2 separate regions of the Homo sapiens genome follow, and region 2 is linked to region 1. The links are contacts of gene promoters, found by promoter capture Hi-C in human tissues and cell types (Jung and others, 2019). All regions are on one chromosome and are shown on one strand. The core of a region is centred on a gene start or on the middle of the fragment in contact, and the rest is flanking DNA. Distances in the headings are between cores, read along the strand shown. Region 1 holds the start of DDX59 (DEAD-box helicase 59). Region 2 overlaps CAMSAP2 (calmodulin regulated spectrin associated protein family member 2).

What was found. Contacts are between HindIII fragments. The study calls those that stand out against the background at their distance.
Region 2: a contact is called between a fragment that was not itself captured here and the fragment with the promoter of DDX59 in region 1, in 1 of the 25 tissues and cell types used here (mesendoderm cells).

What each region holds. Positions count from the first base shown.
Region 1 is chr1:200,668,657-200,672,453 of GRCh38, forward strand. DDX59 (DEAD-box helicase 59) reads right to left here and starts at 1,251. Exons shown (of 8, transcript NM_001031725.6): 1 at 1,111-1,251. It overlaps DDX59-AS1 (DDX59 antisense RNA 1), which reads left to right and starts at 851. Exons shown (of 3, transcript NR_110787.1): 1 at 851-966. RefSeq lists a silencer at 665-1,404. The HindIII fragment of the contact is 3,952 bases long and covers 916-3,797 here.
Region 2 is chr1:200,835,900-200,839,696 of GRCh38, forward strand. All of the region lies in intron 6 of CAMSAP2 (calmodulin regulated spectrin associated protein family member 2), which reads left to right. Among named protein-coding and RNA genes, the nearest start is that of GPR25, 35 kb to the right of the region's middle. The HindIII fragment of the contact is 5,148 bases long and covers 1-3,797 here.

The sequences.
Region 1 (3,797 bases), core at 1-2,500:
TTGGTGAGAATTCCCATCTCCCCTTGTTTTCCCTCCTTCCTTCCCAGATCCAGGAGATAATCAACTAAGAGCCAGGCACCCTTTTAAGTCCAATATAAAACAATTTACAACCTGCTCTCTCTAAAGTCTATCTAAGAGCTTCCTCTGCACAATAAAACTTGGTCTCCACAATCCTTTATCTCTAGCCTGAACATTCCTTTTTATGGATCCCAGGTCTTTAGATAACCTCAACCAGATAACGTTTACATTTACCGATTGAGTTGCCCCGCCTTTCTAAACTAAACCAATGTATTTCTTAAATGTATTTGATGTCTCACGCCTTCCTAAAATAGATAAAACCAAGCTGTACCCCAATTTCCTTGGGCACATGTTCTCAGGACCTCCTGAGGACTGTCACTGGCCATGGTCACTTGAATCTGGCTCAAAATAAATCTCTTCAAATATTTTTCAGAGTTTGATTCTTTTCATCAACCCATATCTATACCTTTTTACACCAAAAACATGTCTTTGCAAAATTACAGTTATTGGGAATAAGGCTTTTAACCTAATCTGGGGACTATCAAATATACTAATAAATATTTTTCTTAAAAAAATTCTTTGTTTAAACTGCCAGATTCCAACTTCCAGAAAAATTCCAACAGAAATGCAACCGAGGGTCTAGAATTACTATCCTAAATCTCCGAAAATGTACAGGGGGTGGCGGGCGGGGCAGGGACGGCTCTAGGTGAGCAGGAAAAAGCTTGGAACTCAGTCTTCCAATGGCGAAAGGGAACGTGCTCCTGCTGGGCGGGACGGCGGACGGCTGGCGGCGGCGCGGCCTCCAATTCTCGCCAACGCGCCCCGCACCCCCGTGCACTGGCGGGCCCTCCCCTCGGGCGTTGCCTCCCACCCACGCCCGGCGGCACCGCACCCCGAGGCGCTTCACGTCACGGAGCTGCTAGGAGACGGGCGGGGCTCCGGTTCCGGGTAGAGGCCTGGGACACGGGGAACTGTAAGGATGGGAGGAAGGCCGCGCAGGGGCACCAGTTCTGCCGCCGCGGCCTAGCGCCCCAGGTCCCGGAGAAGGGGCACCAGGGCGGCCAGGGGCCCAAGCTTCCGGGGCACGCTCACCCGCGCAGGACTGAGGCCGCGTCCGCTCCCGCTCCCGCTCGGGCCGTCTCCCCCTTCCAGGCTCCAGGCCAGGCTTCCGCCCGACAAGCCCTGACCCGCTCGTCAGGACTGCGGCCCGGGGTTGGTGGTGCGGAGCGGAGCGGAGCGGAGCGTAGAGTAGAATCCACTTCCCCGGGTTTTGGGAGGGGGCCGCAGCCCGCTTTCCGGGCGGCGGGGAGGCGGGGCCACCGCGGGGGCGGAGCTCGGCTGGGAGCCGGCAGTGGCTTGGGAGGGAGGGAGGGAGAAGGAGAGGGGCGGGAAGGCTCCTCGCGTTTTCCACGCCCCCGCCCAGCTCTGGGCTGGTGGTAAATCTCGGAACTGGTCCGGGCTGGGCGAGTTCTGGACGGAGGGGCACGTTTGGGAATCCTCTTGGAAGAATTTACGTAATCGAATGGGCTGGGACTGGTGGAAAAGAGTTGGACCGTCCGGAAAGAAGCAGGAGGGCGGCGCGGGGGCCTGGCACCCTTAGAAAGTGGGAAGTGTGAGTGTAAAAGGGAGGGGCACTTCTGCCCGTTGGGCCCAAAAACCCTTTTCTGGCTTTAGCTAGTAGAGCCACTCAAAATTTAAACGGAGTCAGCTTGATGTGGCATATATGATAAGCTGGATAATATTTCCTGCACCACCGCACCCCTCCCCCCACCCCAACACCAACAAGAAAATAACACAAGTCACGGTTCTTGTTCCTTGTGGGCTGACATTTCCCTGTTTTGCCAACCTCTGGAGCCACGTGTCCCAAGCAGCTTGTAGTTGAGAAGTGATGGGGGAGAGGAGACAGCACGGGAGAGGAAGGAGGGAAGCCAGCTTATATTCAGGTGCCTTAAGTATTTAAAAATATTTTCAGTGTAATAGTCGATGCATTCAAAAGAGCATATTTACCAAATATGTAAAATTTAAAGTATGCTAATGAAACTATCACTCCACCACGTTATCAGTATTTAGCATGTATCTATGCATCTCCAGGATTCTACTCCTGGCCTCTTAGCTCACCACCACTATCTTCAGTTTTGTCCCTCTTTGCCATTTTTAGTGGTTTTATCATATTTGGATGCATTCCTGTGTATTGGTGTATTTTTCTTCTTTTTGAGCTTTATAAAAATACATATAGCCTGGAATTCGCTTTTTATCACTCAACATTTGTTTTTTTGGTTCATCCAAGTTGTTACGTGTAGTAACAGAACATTTATTTCTTACTGCCTAGTCAAAAGGAAGTTTTCTCCTGTCAGGAATGTATTCAATACTGTAGCGGATAGGATTATAAATGCACTTTAAGTATTTTCTTTATTGATGGGAACCACACAGACTAAATGTATCAGACTTCCCAAGTTCGTAGGTCACATACCTATAACAGAACTCTTTTCCTGGGTTTTGTGACATTTCTAATTGTTGTAATTTCTTTTGCCATTATAAAAATTAGTCACTTTTGAACCTAATTTGTATTCATCATTCTGAATCTTTTTCTTTAAAAGCCTCCTCTTTTCCAATTATATAAGCTCATACCCCATAAAACCTGAATCTGCCCCTAGTAATTACTAATAAGGCTAGTAGGAGCATTCTTGTTCACCTTCTGTGCATGCGCTGGACTCTAATTTGAACCTAGGATTAGCACTGCGGCATCAGAGGCTATGGGGGCTGTTCAGCTTTCAAAGATAAAGCAGAAATGTTTTCAAAGTGGTTGTACCAATCTATACTGCCACCAGTACCGACCACAATTCTCTCTAAATCCTCGTTATTTTCACACTTCTTACTTTTTGCTAGTCTACCCAGAATAAATACCATGTTTTTGTCTTAATTTGCATTCCGTAATTACTGATAAGGCTGAGCACTTTGAAATATGTTATTCATTCATGTTTTCTCTTCCTCTTCTAAGGATGTGTGTGTGTGTACATATATAAATGTATATATAATGTATATATGTATATATAATGAAACATTCTTTTGTTAATTGTAGGTGTTGCAGATATCTTCTCCCTGTTTATAGTGTGTTTTCAAATAAAAAAATTTTTTGACTTATTTTGAAAAAATCAACCTTATCAAAAAGTTTCAGAATTAATGAACTCCTGTATACCCTTCACATAAGTTCACAGTTTGCTATATTTGCTATATTAGTGTGTAGGAGAGATTATATATATAAAATATGTATACTATAGATATATATTTTTTTCTGAACCATTTAGGAGTAAGTTGTAGCATGTGTCTCCAAAGACAATGATATTCTCTTTTATACTCACAGAAAAATGTTCCAGTTGAGGTTGTTTGTTTTTTGAGACAAGGTCTCACTCTGTTACCCAGGCTGGAGTGCAGTGGTGCGATCTCGGCTCATTGCAACCACCTCCCGGGCTCAAGTGAGGCTCCCACCTCAGCATCCCGAGTAGCTAGGACTACAGGCACACCCCACCTGTTAGAGAGAATTTTTTTGTTGTTAGAGATGGGGTTTTGCCATGTTGCCCACGGTGGTCTCCAACTGCTAGGCTCAAGCTATCCACTTGCCTTGGCCTCCGAAAGTGCTGGGATTACAGGTATGAGCCACTGGGCCTGGCTCAAATTTAGGTAGTTTAACATTGATGAAGTAAGAGTAGCTAGGACTACAGGCACACCCCACCTGTTAGAGAGAATTTTTTTGTTGTTAGAGATGGGGTTTTGCCATGTTG
Region 2 (3,797 bases), core at 813-3,312, 170 kb after region 1:
CTTGGACTTCCAATACATAATATACAGTCCTGATGTTTATATCAACTTTGTCTGGGTACGACCCATATAAAGATATTTTCTTAAATTAGGTATATTTAAACTATGATTTTCTACAGAAAGGGCTTTGGTCACTTTCTATGTTCTTTACTTATTACTACCACAGCTTTGACTTCATTTGAATCTTTTTTTTTTTAATTCAATCTTATTTTAAACTTTTAGCTTAAGCTCAAGGGTACATATGCAGGTTTGTTACATAGGTAAACTTGTGTCATGGGAGTTTGTGGTACAGATTTTTATTTCGTCACCCAGGTATTAACCTTAATACCCATCAGTTATTTCTCCTGATCCTCTCCCTCCTTTCACCTTCCACTCGTGGATAGTTTGCAGTTTCTGTTGTTCTCTTTCTGTCCCTGTGTTTTCGTCACATAAGTGAGAGCATGTGGTGTGTGGTTTTGTTTCTGCATTAGTTTGCTAAGGATAATGACCTCCAGCTCCATCTGTGTTCCTACAAAGGACATGATCTTGTTCTTTTTTATGGCTGCATAGTATTCCATAGTGTATATGTACCCCATTTTCTTTATCCAGTCTAGCGTCAATGGGCATTTAGGATGATTCCATGTCTTGGCTATTGTTAATAGTGCTGCAGTGAACATACACATGCATGTGTCTTTTTGGTGGAATGATTTATGTTCCTTTGGGATATACCCAGTAATGGGATTGCTGGGTTCAGTAGTATTTCTGTTTTTAGGTCTTTGAGGAATTACCACACTGTTTTCCACATTGGTTGAACTAGTTTACACTCCTACCAACAGTGTGTAAATGTTCCTTTTTCTCTGCAACTTTGTCAACACCTATTATTTTTTGACTTTTTAGTAAGAGCCATTCTAACCGGTGTGAGATGGTATCTCATTGTGGTTTTGATTTGCATTTCTCTAATGATCAGTGATATTGGGCTTTTTTTCATATGCTTGTTGGCCGCGTGTATGTCTATGTCTTTTGAAAAGTGTCTGTTCATGTCCTTTGCCCACTTCTTAATGAGATTATTTTTATCTTGTAAATATGTTTAAGTCCCTTATAGATGCTGGATATGAGACCTTGGTCAGATGCATAGTCCGAAAAATTTTCTCCCATTCTATAAGCTCTCTGTTCACACTGTTGATAGTTTCTTTTGCTGTGCAGAAGCTTTGTAGTTTAATTAGATCCTATTTGTCAATTTTTGCTTTTGTTGCAACTTCTTTTGGCACCTTTGTCATGAAATCTTTGCCCATTCCTATGTCCAGAATGGTACTGCCTAGATTTTCTTCCAGGGTTTTTATAGTTTTGGGTTTATATTTAATTCTTTAATCCATCTTGAGTTAATTTTTTTATATAGTGTAAGGAAAGTGTCTGTTTTCCATCTTCTGAGTATGGCTAGACCGTTATCCCAGCACCATTTGTTGAATAGGGAGTCCTTCCCCATTGTTTGCTTTGGTCAGCTTTTTCAAAGATCAGATGGTTGTAGATATGTGGCCTTATTTCTGGGCTCTCTGTTCTGTTCCATTTTTGTACCAGTACCATGCTGTTTTGGTTACTGTAGCCCTGTAATATAGTTTGCAGTCAGGTAACATGATGCCTCCTGCTTTGTTCTTTTTGCTTAAGATTGCCTTGGGTATTCAGGTTCTTTTTTGGTTCAATATGATTTTTAAAATAGTTTTTTTTAGTTCTATGAAGAATATCATTGGTAGTTTAATAAGAATAGCATTGAATCTATACATTGATTTGGGCAGTATGGCTATTTTAACAATATTGATTCTTCCTGTCCATGAGCATGGAATGTTTTTCCATTTGTTTGTATCATCTCTGATTTCTTTGAGCAGTGTATTGTAGTTCTCCTTGTAGAGATCTTTCACTTCCCTGGTTAGCTGTATTCCTAGGTATTTTATTCTTTTTGTGCCAGTTGTGAATGGGATTGCATTCCTGATTTGGCTCTTGGCTTAACTGTTGTTGGTGTATAGGAATGTTAGTGATTTTTGTACATTAATTTTGTATCCTGAGACTTTGCTGAAGTTGTTTATCAGCTTAAGGAGCTTTTGGGACAAGAGTATGTAGCCTTATGACCATCTTAACTAAAAGAAGGAAAGAAGAAGCTTTTAAATGAATTAATCTGGCATCATTCCTGAAATATGGTGACAGATTTATTGCTGTTTAATCGTCATGAACTCAGAAAGACATAATCTTCATAAGTTTTAATTACTGGGAAAATTATTTCTTACTCTACTGACATCTTGTGGCCAAATAGTACAATTAATGTTATTAGGATGGCTATCTTACCAAAGTCCTTAAAATATTAACTTATTTTCTGTTCAACAGATAATTATTGAGCACTTAAGCAGTATTTTTTCAAAATATAATCAGCTTTCAGTTAACTAGGCTAGTAAAATGGAACCTAGCACCAGTACTTAAAAACCAATTTTATACTTTGGCTTTAGAAAGTATACCATAAAGATAAGTATAAAGAAGAAATATAAATCACAATAATCTTACTAATCAGAAATATTGTGTCAATGTTTTGATGTTTTACTGACTGTTTTTTTTAGTACGTAGATTCATTCATTTGTACATTCATTTAATAAATATTTATTGAGCACCTATCATGTGCCAGACACTGTTTTAAACACTGAAGATATAATGATGAGCATAAACTTTGTCTTTTTAGACTTTATCATCTGGAGGGTAAGATGAGGAAACTTGGAGAATGTAGTAATAGATAAATCTGGGAAGAGAAAAAGGGACTGTACCAAGTAGCCTCTTGTAAGCCATAGTAAGATTCCCTTTACCTCAAGAGCAATGGAAAGAGAGTTGCATTTTGAAAAGTTTGTTTTCTTAGCAAGCCAAAGAAAAAGCTATTGTGTTCCAAACAAGGCAAAAATGTTTGAATCAGAGCAGTTATGATGGAGAGAAGTTGGTGAATTCCAGAAATATTTAGGATGCAAAATCTGCATGCTTTGGTGATGAATTGGACATGGGAGAAAGAAGGTGTCAAGGATGACTCCTAGGTTTCTGGTTTGCACACTGGGATAGTGGTGCCATTCAGTGAGATAAGGACTGCAGTAAGATCACATTTGTAGGGAAGGTCACTATTTCAATTTTGGACATAGGCCTTTGAGATATCCAAAAGAAAATGCTCGGTAGGCCACTGCATATATAAGTGCAGTCAGTACATTTGAGAATCATTTAGTAGCTGATGGACGTAGGCATGGCAGTGTTTCAAAGAGGGGCGAGATCAGGAATATCAAATGCAGCTGAGAGGTCAAGTAAGATGGGAAATCTGTTTGATTTAGCAACATATGTACATCATTGGTGACTTGAGCAGTTGCTGTTAGGGGAATGATGTGACTCAGTGCCAAGACTGAAGTAGATTAGAGAGTAAAAGTGATGAAATGGAAAATGTCAGTAGAGGCCTGCTCCTAAAAGAAGTTTGTGAAGAGGTAAAAAGATGGTGGGAATGAGGAGAAACTAGAGAATAGTTATTGAGTAAAGGTTTTGTTTCATTTATTTTGATGGGAGGGATTTGAGCATGTTTAAAAGCCAAATAGGAAGGATTCTGTTGACAGGGGAAGGATACATATGTAGGAGAGAAAAGTAGGATTAAGAATATAATGGCATTCACAGCAATTTGGATGGAATTGGAGACCATTATTCTAAGTGAAGTAACTCAGGAATGGAAAACCAAACATCATATGTTCTCACTCATAAGTGGGAGCTAAGCCATAAGGATGCAAAGGCATAAGAATGATACAGTGGACTTTGGGGACTCA